2 separate regions of the Homo sapiens genome follow, and region 2 is linked to region 1. The links are contacts of gene promoters, found by promoter capture Hi-C in blood cells and fetal thymus (Javierre and others, 2016). All regions are on one chromosome and are shown on one strand. Each heading gives the region's core, a stretch centred on a gene start or on the middle of the fragment in contact. The rest is flanking DNA. Distances are from core to core; before and after follow the strand shown. Region 1 has its middle 60 kb from the start of SCAF8. Region 2 holds the start of CLDN20 (claudin 20).

Region 1 (6,710 bases), core at 1,625-4,124:
CACACTGGTTAGGAAGGTATATGCATTTATGAAATTTTATTATATGTAAAATTCACACTTAAGATTTGTGCCCCTTTCTCTATGTAAGTTATACTTCCAATTTAAAGCAACCATTCAATTCCATATTTTCTATGTATTAATCACAATCTTTTTTTTTTTGAGACAGGGTCTTGCTCTGTCGCCCAAGGCAAAATGCAGTGGCATGAACATGGCTCACTGCAGCCTCGAACTCTTGGGCTCAAGCCATCCTCCTCCCACCTCAGAATCCTATGTAGCTGGGACCACAGGCACACACCACCATGCCTGGCTAACTTTTTCCTTTTTTTGTGGAGACTGGGTCTCACCATCTTGCACAGGCTGGTCTTGAACTCCTGGGCATAAGTGGTCCTCCCACCTGGGCCTCCCAAAGTGCTGGGATTACAGGTGTGAGCCACCACGCCCAGTCAGCAACATTTTATTGAATGTCAGACATTCTATAGAAAAACTGCAGAGGCTCTGGATGATGTTATCTTCTATCAAGAGGTTTCTCCTTATTCTCTGGCAGGCAGCAGGAGTGGGTGTACATCACCTCAGTACATTCAGTGCATAGAGCTTTGAAGCTGTCTTGCAATCTTTTTAAGGTTTAGCCTTCCTCTAAATTGAACCCACTCCTAGGAGTTAGCCCTGCAAATGAAGCCTAGTGTGTTTACTAGAACACTTCCTCCTTGGCTCCAAATTTTGACTCCTTACCTCAGTGCCATGAGGCTTCCACTCTGCTTTTCAACCTTTTCTGTTCGATTTCTCCAACTCTAACCTTGTTCAGCTTAAGAATCAGTAGAGGCCCCAAGGAGGAAATGGGTATGCAGCCTTTACTGGGCTTACTTCTCTGCACTCCCTGGAGTTTGTACCCTCAAGTCTCAGCTGTTCTGGCAGCCCCAAAACTCCAATGTTCACCTCCTGTGCCTCGTGAGATTGATGGAAGTTCTACCACTTTGATGCCTCTTAGCATTCACCTTCTAACCAACTTCGAAACCTCTGTTAGTGCCAAGAACTGGCATTGACTCAGGGATCAAACTGCAAGCAGAGGGTGACGCTCATCTCAGTGACCCACCCTTATCTCCAATATTCTTCCCTTGAGTCCTTACTGCCTCAGTGCCTTCCAGCAGATGTTTTTGATATTATATCTGGTTTTTCTAGATTTCCTTGATGGGAGCATGGTCTGCTACAAACTATACCCTTCTAGCCAAAATCAGGAATATTTTCATCAAGGTATAAACATTAGGCTGGGCACAGTGGCTCACATCTGTAATCTCACCACTTTGGGAGGCTGAGGCGGGCGAATCACTTGAGCCTAGGAGTTAGAGACCAGCCTGGGCAAGATAGTGAAACCCTGTCTCTATAAAAAAATACAAAAATTGGCCGGGCGCGGTGGCTCACGCCTGTAATTCCAGCACTTTGGGAGGCCGAGGCGGGTGAATCACTTGAGCCTAGGAATTAGAAACCAGCCTGGGCAACATAATGAAACCTTGTCTCTACAAAAAAATACAAAAGTTGGCTGGGCACACCAGCTACTCAGGAGGCTGAGGTGGGAGGATTCCTTGAGCCCAGGAGGTAAAGACTGCAGTGAGCCGTGATCACACCACTGCCCTCCAGCCTGGGTGACAGAGTGAGACCCTGTCTCAACAACAACAAAAAGACATTAAAGACATAGTAATGCTTACAGAAGTTATGTTATGTTTTTAACATTGGCATTTCAGGAGTTAAATGCAGATGGCAGCGGTTCCGAGGAAGAGAGGAAGTGCTAATAGCCTCATTTTATAAAGTGACCTGTGATGATTCTAGAAAGAAAAGTAAAAGCAAGTTACTAATATGCTAAATTAGCACAATTCATGGGATGTGATCAAAATGTGCTTTATTTTTCCATTGCTCCTTGCAAATGTCTTCAGTGATGTTCCACTTCTCCTGCTCCAGATGACATCTTGGACTAATCCCGTGACATTTCTGTTCACTGCCAGGTAATAGACTTACCACTGTTATAACTGCCCAACAGGTTCTGGTAGATGCCTAAAACTGTCTCTTTCTTTCATGGCACTTGCAGAGGCTGACCCAGGAGGGTCTCTCTGGGTGAAGTACCTAGGATGTGAGTGGTGCGTCACCTTCAGCTGACCTCTCTCCACTCAACCCTTGGTCCTCTAGCAACTCACTTAACAAGGAGGCTGATTATTTGCATCCATCACATTCCCAGTCTGTCCTCTTAGGCAGGACTTTAAGTGGCTCCAGGGTTCACTCTGCCATGTGGTCCACAAACACTCATGCTCCTATTAAGTGGCCACTGGAGGAGAATGCAGTTATTCCTGAGCGCAACAGCCACCCTCTCGGATTCCATCATCCAAGCTGCTTTCTGGCTCACCATCTAACCTTTGTTGACCTTCAGACTTGATAGGAATAGGAATTAGATACTAGTCCACTCTGTCCCTCAAATCCCCGGGGATACTTTGGGAGCCTCCCCATTTGGTCCAGGGAAAGTCCATGCTTATTTTGAGGAAATGAGGCAGGCGATCTCTGTCTCAGCCCCTTGGTGGGATATGTGGATGAGGCTCACAGTCAACCTTCTCCAAAGAAACCTTCCTCGAACAATGCTCTCATCCTCTCCACTCCAGCGCTTCTATATTCTCCATGAAGTAGTGGGTAAAGAGGAGCTTGAGAGTCATTAAACCGGATGTTGACCATTTCCTTTGTAATCTGCATACAGGACTTGGCTTCACATCCATTTTGGCATATATCTTACTGGCACCTCAGTCAAAATGAAGAGAGGAAGCATCCCACTTTCCCTACTGTTAGGAGTACATTGCTTCAGGTTATGATTACAGCAAATAGAACAACCAACGGTCTCAAATGTAAATGCAAACCATGGCAGGCAGCTAAACCCATGCATGAAACACACTCTGATGTGAGAAAGACTATTGGACTTGCTTTGTCAATTTGTAATTTTCCCACATGGGTACGGGGAAATATTTTGTTTGCTATAAGAAAAGAAAGAGGCCGGGCATGGTGGCTCACGCCTGTAATCCCAGCACTTTGGGAGGCCAAGGCAGGTGGATCACAAGGTCAGGAGTTCAAGACCAGCCTGGCTAAGATGGTGAAACCCCGTCTCTACTAAAAATACAAAAAATTAGCCAGGCGTGGTGGCGGGCGCCTGTAATCCCAGCTACTCGGGAGGCTGAGGCAGAGAATTCCTCGAATCCGGGAGGTGCAGGTTGCAGTGAGCCAAGATCGCGCCACTGCACTCCAGCCTTGGCGACAGACCAAGACTCCATCTCAAAAAAAAAAAAAGAAAAGAAAGAGACCAATGATGAGAAATGTCAATTTACACTCAGCCTCAGCACTAAAGAGCAGTAAGGAGTGGGGACATCTGGGGAAACTGGAAATCTGAGGGACCGACAGTCGTTATTCAGCTCAGGTCAACAGCTGCCATAAAAGAATGCAAACCTCATTTAAATATTTGAGGATTTTTCAAGAGAAGTAGGAAAATCTATATTTTTTTATTTAACTTGATCCTTTAAATGTTGGCTCAAACGTTTTTTCAACAGCATGCAGGCCAAACAACACTACCCATCTATACCCTCTACAAGACAGACACAAAAATAGTGAGCTGAAAACTCATGTATCAGAGCAGAAAGTCAGTAAATATTTATTTAAATTGATGCCTTTACAGATAGTGATTTTAGCACAGTACTTAGACCTGTGAAGAAAACTGAAAGAACAAAAAGCTGAATGAGTTAAAAGTGGTTATCTTTAAGGACAGCGTAAGAAAGACTATAGTTTTTATTATTTATACTATTTTTTGTTGTTTAAATTTTGTTATTACCTTAAGAAAAAAAATTAAAAAGGAATCAAAAATCTCTCCACAAAAACCCAACTCTGGTTTGACTTCCTTAGCTGGAACCTGTATTTCTATCATCAGACAACAGAAACCATTGCATTCCTGCTGCACCGAGGCCATAACAGCAACTCCACCAGCTTTGCAGAAATGATAACTGTGCAAGGTTCATCAAGTTCTGTGACCAGCTTCGGTGTCTGTAGCCTCCTGTCCCACACTGGGTTGCTCAATATCTTGTTCTTTGCACATACCTAATTCTTCCTGGCAGCTCAGAGAGGGTGTTGACCATATCTGAGGACTTGCAGAGCATGTCCCCAACTCAAGGACCACATGGAGCAGCCTGGAGGCCTCCTCCAGCCCCAGCCAATATCCAGTGACTACACGGGATTTTATCACTGAGCTTTCTGTCACCTCCCACTGCCCCCGCTTCATTAATCTAACACCATCCTTGTGGCTACATCTCTACTCACAAAACCCTCTGAGACAGCCACAACCACCCCCATTCACACCCCTAGAATACCTTTGTCTCCGTGGGTTCTCCATCCAGATTACACAAGCACAAGTTTGTATCCTCCATCTTGCAGAACCTCTCCCCAATCCTTGGAACAAGAGTCATTTGTCCTCAGCTTTCTTCCAACAAAAAGATGGCCCAGAAAGATGGTCCAGAGATTACTCCTATCCCAGAATGATATAAACTACAAGATTTTTGTTTTAATAAAAATAGCTGGGCTAGGCACCGTGGCTCACGCCTGTAATCCCCACACTTTGGGAGGCCAAGGTGGGTGGATCAGGAGTTGACGTCAGGAGTTCAAGACCAGCCTGGCCAACACAGTGAACCCTCGTCTCTACTGAAAATACAAAAATTAGCCAGGTGTGGTGGTGGGCGCCTGTAATCCCAGCTACTTGGGAGGCTGAGACGGGGAGAATTGCTTGAACCTGGGAGACAGAGGCTGCAGTGAGCCGAGATCGCATCACTGCACTCCAGCCTGGGTGACAGAGCGAGACTCCATCTCAAAGAAATAAAATCAAATAGCTAACAGTTGTTGAGTGTTTTACTTCACACTGGGTATTGTTCTAATCTCTGTGGTTTAGGTACATTTATCTCCATTTTAAGCCAAGGAAACTGAGGCACAGAAAAGTTAAGTAACCTGCTCAAAGCAAAAACTTAGTAATTGGCAAAGCATTTGTGTTGTTTTTGTTGTTGCTATTGTTGTTGTTGTTTGAGACAGGGTCTCACTCTGTCACCCAGGCTGGAGTACAATGGTGTGATCATGGCTCATTGCAGCCCCAGCCTTCCCGAGCTCAAGCAATTCTCCTACCTCAGCCTCCTAAGTAGCTGGGACGACAAGCGTGTACCACCATGCCTGGCTAATTTTTTTTTTTTTTTTGTACTTTTTGTAGAGTTGGGGTTTCGCCATTTTGCCAGGCTGGCCTCCAACTCCTGAGTTCAAGCAATCCTCCTGCCTTAGCTTCCCAAAGTGTTGAGATTACAAGCATGAGCCATCATGCCTGGCCACAAAGCCTTTGTTTTAACCCTGCTTCGACTCCAGATCCTGTGCTCTTACTACTAAAATTATATAGTATTTCAATATCAAACAGCCCATGAATGCAAAACGATACACCCATAAAATAGGATGTAATCGCCAAAATCTAATTCTATTGCATCTAGAAGATCTTTATCCACAGTGAAAAGAGTTGAACATCATTGACAGGTTTGAATACATTCAATATTTATACTCTTACCTCCCCCCACCATTACAAATTGTCTAAATGGCATTCTAAGCCTTTATGAATTCAATTAAAAAGAAAAATGCCAAGGCCTGCTCGCTAGAGGTCGCTCTCCTAACTATGGGGTCCTGTTAGTCTTATAGAGTAAGACAGCAGAGTAGGCCAAGAAAGTGATGGCAGCAGCCATCAGTGTGACCAGCAGATGGCATTAGAGTCCCACAGATCCTGAGATTGAGCCATAGCTAAGCAACTTCACTAGGCATACCACATCTGTCAAGGCAGGTTATGCTAAGCTTATTATTTTCACAAACGTTTAAATATAACGCTATTTGGTTGTCAAGATAGTCCACCCAAAACTCATACACAACTCATCTTCTGGGAAAACAGAATAAGTAAGATGTGTTGCTAGAAATAAGGTAGTGAAGGAAAAAAATAAGAGGATTGATTGACAGGAATGAAAACTCAGACTGGATTTTGAGGCTGTTTCTGGATGGCTTCCACCAAAAACCATAGACCCATCTAAGATCAGGGATACAAGGAGGGCTCATGGCTTCCAGCATTTTCCATTGGCCCTCAGCAAGGTGCTCCCCAAGATCAGCGGTCAAGAGAGGTGGTCAATACACACCAGGTTACGTGAGGACTTGGTTATTCTAGAGGAACCCAGAACACAAGTCCATGGCCTTTTCAACCATGTTAGGCGTTGGAGGCCACGTCAGCCCCCATGGATCCACTCTACAACTTTATAAAGAATTTGTTAGGCACCAGTGGCTTGCTTCAGAGTTCTAGTTCCTATGCTGTCAGGGAGTCTACAGCATCCCTATCCACAACTTACCTCCAGGATTTTGCTTAATTTCTGTGGAAAGCGATCTCAACTTCCCAGTTCACACACAGATGCAACCAGCATGAGACATTCCTAGAAATCAACAACCTTTGGTGACTGGTCTATCTCATGCTATTCTACATACTGCTTGCTCACTTCACAAATACGACATTCCAAGAGCACAAGGCTATCTGGTAAGGATGAGTATGGAGATAAATATTAACATCTTTTTACTGTGATGATTTAGCTGGAATAATTAAAACTTATATTTCCACTTATGAAGACTCTGCCTTTTGTTTTTTT
Region 2 (6,710 bases), core at 2,369-4,868, 590 kb after region 1:
GTCCACCTTCGTTGTAAGCAAACATATTATCATTCTGTGGCATGATATGTGGCATAGTGTGATCAATCAACTCATCCTTGTAAAACAGGAGGATGGGCTGTCAACAGCCTGTTTTCATAAACAGACCTTTCCACGTACTTCGGTTTCATCTCTAGGCATGGAAGATGGTACATTCTGGATTCGCAAATGACATGGAGAAATCAGCCGGCTGCACCTGTTCTCTAATGACATCCACCAGACCTGTGCTTGATGGTCACTTAATTTTAAAACACAGTTTCACAATGGCTTAAAAATCAATCCAAATCATTAAAGTCAGTCAGCAGATAATAGATGGCATTAGAATATTTTAGTTTTTGAATGAGGAAAAAAATAAGCCGCAGCAGCAGCTTCAAGACACAGAGAGATGGCAGACAGGCCCCCAGGGACCACTCAGTGCTAAACTTCCCAGATAGAGACACCACTTATTTTCGGTAGACACTGATTAATCAGCTGGACTGAATTCATGAGTGTAGTCTGAAAAGCCACAGAACTTTCTAGTAGCAATTTTAAATGCCCCGAAAGGCATAGGCAGGACTGAAATTGAAAATGGAAACCATCAAAAAATGTCACTGTTTGATAGTGTTTAAGCTACTGCCAGCTGTGGAGATTCTTTAATTGTCAGAAGATAAAACTTTTCAGGCATATCTTATAAGAGATTTATACCCTGATTTGTTCCAAAAATGGACTCATGGTGATTCACAAGGACAAATTCAAATACCAAAGGAAAAACATTTAAAGACAGAGGGAAATGGATTCAAAACAGTAACTACACACACAAAAATGCTAACGGAGACCATGGTCTAGGAAATGGGAAGTCTCGTCATAATTGACAAAAGCCTCAGTCTCCAGGAATTGTTAAACTTGTTAATGAGGATCTCATACAGACTCAACAAAAGGCGAAGAAAGTACGGCAATTTAGGAGGTGTGGGCTGCACCACTGCTTTTCAAAAGGAACTCCATTGTTGAAATCCCATAGAGGTTGTCATTTTCTCCTAAGAGGACTTGCTTCTAAAGATCCTTGTGGCTACATAATTCCTTAAACAGATGAAAATGGGAGACTGGCTTTTCTGGTTGTGTTTCTTTTAGGGTAGAAGGAAAACAACTGAATATGATGTGAGACTTTATGGACAAGAAAGTGAAAATAAGCTGTGCTCAGCCTCACACAGCCTGACGCGCTTGTGGGAGGTGCCTGTGGTGCCTGAGCTGTGTCATCAAGGCCCCGGACCCCTGAGAGCTTGCACCTCCCTATTTAAACAATCAATGAGCCTGTCCCCGAAGGTTTCAGGTCAGCTACAGCTGCTCCTACTGGATGGAATGGGAAATAGAAGGCTTTGGTGGTAAGGGGCGGTGTGGGCTGGCGCATGCTGAGAATGTGCCAAGCGGCCTTTCCACACCCCAAATGCCCACCCCCAACATCCATCAGCCTTCTTGTGAAGTCCAGCAGGCTGTTCTTGTGAAGATTCTATGGTGGAACAGTAGTTATGAACAGTGACTTAACTAAGATGTCAAATGCTCTTAATAAATTTTAGTAAGTTTTTTGAATTGTGTGCTATATGTTGTTTCATGTTTCCTCAAGTTTAGTAACAACTACCTCTTCCTACAGGACTTCCCTTAGACTTTAACAAAACGCACCATAGAACAGTGCCCAGCTTGGAGAGGTCTGTGGTCATCAGGGAAAGAGGGACTGAAGAAGACAAGGGGCTGTGGAGTGGATGCAGGGTGTAGGTGGGGTAGATGTACTGCTATAGGGAGAGAAGAAAGGTGGTTTCAGCTCAGGGCAGTTCTGGGGAAGGAAAAAGAAGACCTGATCTATGAATGGCAGAGTGCAGGCAGCAGCCCAAGACACACTCCACTGACTTCAGATGTCAGGTTCCTTCCCACAAACTCTGAACTATCCTGCCTACCTCGCCTCCTCCTGATTTGTATAGAGAAGTGGTCCCAACTGTCAGGCATGTGTCTGGCCACTCTCTACACCTCGCCAGCCTTCTCTCACTGGACTCTCCATTTCCCTTTCATCCCCTGAGCTTCCTGGCACCCTTGTCCCTGCCTCCCGTTCTCCAGGACTCATCTCCTGTAACCCTTCAACTCCAGTTCTCCCAGTGACAAAGAGCCAATTCTATCAATTCTTACTAGCAGCCTGCTAGTCTCCAGAAGAAATACTCTTAGCAAAATCTGAGATAAAATCTAATCCCTGCCTAGGCCTAAAACCATGAAATATTATCAAAACTCTACATAAGGCTTACAAACTATTAAGACCAAAAGCACAAATACAGAGATAGATGCACTCTCTTCCAGTACAGAAACTGCCACTTTCAGCTTCCTTAGATTTTAAATTTTGGCCTCATCTTTATTTGCCTGATTTCATTCCTTTGAGATATAGTTGGTATTTGCAAATACAGGAAGTGTCTAACTTTTGCTTGATTTAAATAAAGTTTTAAAACCCTGAACAAATATAGTAGTACCCCATGTAAACTATAGCGTCGACTTCTAAAGTTTGAATACAATTCCAATACTCTGTTAAGTTGGCTTATATTATGTCACGGCTAAAAGAGAATTCCCCTCACAAATGCAGTTACTATTTAGTGGGAGATTCTGTAAAACTCAGCGTCAACAAAGCTCTTCCAGTTATGTCTCCTGCTTCTGGGACGGCCAGGACCTCTCCTGTACCACCCCTTCCTCTCCCTTTCCCCCAAAGGCACCTTTCAGAATTACTCTGAATGATGGAGCCCATTTTTTTCTAGAACTATAGGAAAGCTGCTTGGTAACTATGGTAACGAATACAAAAATGTTTTTTACTTATAATTGAATGCTTATTTAAAATTACAAGTATTATTTTTTCTTCCTTGAGTTTTAAGTCTATTAATGGGTTTGATTACAAAAAAGAAATCAGTACAAAGGCATCAGAAGTACTTAAAATATTCTAGTTTAATGCCGCCAGCCTTTTCCAAACTCAGTCCATCAGTATACCAAAATGACCTACTAAAATTTCAAATGAAAGGATTTAAAATGAATTTAAATATTTGCCTTTCTAACCCTATACGTCAACGCTGTAACAAGCTAAGACTGTTTCTCAGTGTTAGCAGCCTTGGCCATAACAGGCCCGAGGCAGATGTCCTAGTTTCCAGGCCAGGGTGTCTAGGACGTGACTGGTTATCAGCTCAGAGCAGCACTTGGAACTCACAAGGGACCCGGGCTAAGGAGATATTAAATCTTAAATCTTAGATATTAGATATTACAACTGAGAACTGTAATCAACATGATATACAGAGGACACTGAAGAGACGTACAACTCAGTTCCTGATGATTATCATATGCCCAAAAGCTAAGTCACGACCACATGCACAGACACAGAAACAATGCTGGCCACTGTCTACAAAAGGGTCTTCATTCAACACTCTCACGGTGTTCAAGACCATTAGAGGACAAGATAGTGGAGATGAAAAAATGATGAGGAAGTTACTATGTAAATAGCCAAGACACAGCCATAACTTAAGACAACAGAAGGGCTAGTGAAAAAAAAAAAAAAGACCACAGGGAATAATCAGTAAGACTTTAAAGAACAACATATAAGAAGGATTCAAAGTTCGAAGTGGGATGATCACGGGCAGACCTGGGTGGTTGGGAACAGGAAGCATATGGCATCTTGCAGGCTATAGGCACCACAAAATGGAACGCAGGAGGACAGGGGCTTGGGAGAGCCACTTCACTGTCGGGTAAAACAACGGAGCAAGATGAGTGCCTCCGGATGCTTGGTTTCCCCACCCTCCAGTGTCTGCTTGCTCTTCAAGTACCTCCACCAAGCTAATGACAGTCCACTTTAGGACATCACGGGCCTCGAGGTTACAACTTTCCCAGGTAAGGAGAATCCCAGGTAGAGGCAGCAAGTCACTGATGCCTGTGATATGATAATTATGCATGTCATAGAAAAAGAAAATACTGACAAATGTGAATGTAGATCACATTTTCTGGAATTGGTTCACTCTACCTGTGATCCATGTCCAAAAGCCAATTTAAGGAAAGAATTTCCACTGTAAAACCTTAAAGCTGACAGCATTCTAAGTATTTCAAACCAACTGGTTCAATAAAGATCAACTACACGGTCAGTACCTATCCTAAAGTTTACAATTTGTGTTATTGTAACAATATTTATTTCTGCAGAAGTTCTGTCCTCACCCTTTTTTCTTCCTACAGATCTTTGTTTTTTTCTCTTTCTTCTTGGGATCATAAAAAAAGAACAGATTTTAAACAGTCACATAGTGTTTCCTCTCAGAGCAGATGTGGTAGGAAGAACTGAGGCCAAGAGAATGACAGCAAACTCAGATCACAAGAGAAATAAGACTAAGAAATGTGGTGAGGGGGATGAAGAGTTTTTTTACTGTGTAAATTATGTAAATGTACATATGTATGTATGTAAATTACACCTATTAGTAATAACAACAACAAGATGAGTCAGTGTCTCTTGGTCCCAAGAGATTAAACAATTTCAGGGAGATGCACGTGTAATCCTCAAGAAAGCACAAATGGAACAAGAACTGACAATTGTTGTATAAAGGTTTTCTGTTACATTTAATCTGGAGTTCCTGGATGATCAGAGGGAAAAGACCTTCCTAAAACTAGGCCTTTTCCACAAACCACGCCCTTGGTGTCTGTGAAGCAGCAGCATCTGGACGTGCCCTGTGTTTCCTGTCCCGGGCTGTGCTCCCGCTTGGGTTTGTGGATGTGGCAGGAGCTGCCTGAGGCAGCTTCGAGGCTGCCCAGCCGGGCCATGGGTGTGGCAGCACATTGGCAACTGCCAGGGTCTGGACCCCAGCGCTGCAGGTCCTGAGCAACTCCCGTCCCTCAGAGAGAAGACAGGACCTCAGAGAGGCTCTCAATCTAAACAAACTCAGAAGGCACTTGATAAATGCTGCTAGTAATATTATTAAAAGACTGAGAAATAGAACATGCATACAAATATAGTAATTCATAATAAACCATAATTATCAAACGGACTAGACATCACACTGAAGATGCTTGGTCAGTACATTCGTATATTCATAGCTGATACTGTTAATTTCCTAAGGCTGGGACAGAAGAAGAACATTATTTTAGGATTAGGTCAAATCACTTTAAATTTGTAGGGCTGGAACAGGTAACTATTTTATCTTACTCTGAACTGTCATTATTTTCAAGATTGAATGGAAAGCAAAGAAGAAAAAACATTTGTATTAGGGTTCTCTAGAGGGACAGAACTAATGGAATATATATATATGAGTTTATTAAATATAAATATTAAATATATTTATATATAATATAAATATATATTATATATAATATATAATATATATTTAATATATAATATGTAAATATTAAATATATATATAAAGAAGAGTTTATTAAGTATTAACTCACATGATCACAAGGTCCCACAATAGGCCATCTGCAGGCTGAGAAGCAAGGAGAGCCAGTCCAAGTTCCAAAACTGAAGAACTTGGGAGTCCAATGTTTGAGGATAGGAAGCATCCAGCACGTGAGAAAAGATGTGGGCTGGGAGGCTAAGCCAGTCTCTCTTTTCACATTTTTCTGCCCACTTATATTCTAGCTGAGCCGGCAGCTGATTAGATGGTGCCCACCCAGATTGAGGGCGGGTCTACCTTCCCCACCTCACTGACTCAAATGTTAATCTCCTTTGACAACACCCTCACAGATACACCCAGGATCAATACTTTGTATCCTTCAATCCAATCAAGTTGACACTCAGTGTTAACCATCACAACATTTTTTTTAAAATTCAGAACCCCAACTTTTCATTAGAATTAAATGGACAGCATTTGAAAAATACAAGGATGGGGCTCCATCCCAGAAAATTAAATAAAAGCCACTGGGTTGGGCCTGAGCCTCTTGGGGCTTTTCCAAAGCCCTCGTGTGGGCAGAAATGAGAATCACAGGTTTGGGGAACAATCCTAGTTGCTTGGGAAAGTATCACACAGTCAACTCAAATCCTGGAGATTAAATTCACTAGAAGTGCAGCTAGAGCCCTGTGACACCCACAAAGCCAGCCTGAGTCCCTGCTGGATACAGCTCACCAGGGGGGATGAAAAGCCAGATACAAACTTCCCCAGTCTCGCTCACAGTTAAGAATGACCAAATGAGGCTGGGCGCTGTGGCTCACACCTGTAATCCCAGCACTTTGGAAGGCCAAAGCGGGCGAATCATGAGGTCAGGAGATCGAGACCATCCTGGCTAACACGGTGAAACCCCGTCTCTACTAAAAAATACAAAAAATTAGCCAGGCGTGGTGGCGGCCGCCTGTAGTCCCCGCTACTTGGGAGGCTGAGGCAGGAGAATGGCGTGAGCCTGGGAGGCGGAGCTTGCAGTGAGCTGAGATCGTGCCACTGCACTCCAGGGTGGGCGACAGAGCGAGACTCCGTCTCAAAAAAAAAAAAAAAAAAAAAAAAAAGAATGACCAAATGAGCCAGTTCTGGAAAGTGAGACATTAAAGCATAGTCTGGGGTGGTGGTGGGAGAGGGGAAGAGAACTCTAGAATACTTTGCTGCCTTTTTTTTTTTTTTTTTGAGACAGAGTCTCACTCTATCGCCCAGGCTGGAGTGCAGTGCAGTGGCATGATCTCGGCTCACTGCAACCTCCACCTCCTGGGTTCAAGCAATTCTCGTGTCTCAGCCTCCTGAGTA

Evidence for each region. Contacts are between HindIII fragments. The CHiCAGO score rates a contact against its expected background, and 5 or more counts as called.
Region 2: a contact is called between the fragment with the promoter of CLDN20 here and a fragment that was not itself captured in region 1, in 3 of 17 cell types (M0 macrophages, total B cells and endothelial precursors). The highest score is 5.5, in M0 macrophages.

What each region holds. Positions count from the first base shown.
Region 1 is chr6:154,670,018-154,676,727 of GRCh38, forward strand. No RefSeq gene overlaps it. Among named protein-coding and RNA genes, the nearest start is that of SCAF8, 60 kb to the right of the region's middle. The HindIII fragment of the contact is 6,007 bases long and covers 1-5,878 here.
Region 2 is chr6:155,260,395-155,267,104 of GRCh38, forward strand. It overlaps CLDN20 (claudin 20), which reads left to right and starts at 3,619. Exons shown (of 2, transcript NM_001001346.3): 1 at 3,619-3,894. TFB1M (transcription factor B1, mitochondrial) reads right to left here. Exons shown (of 7, transcript NM_016020.4): 6 at 1-6. The HindIII fragment of the contact is 9,121 bases long and covers 1-6,710 here.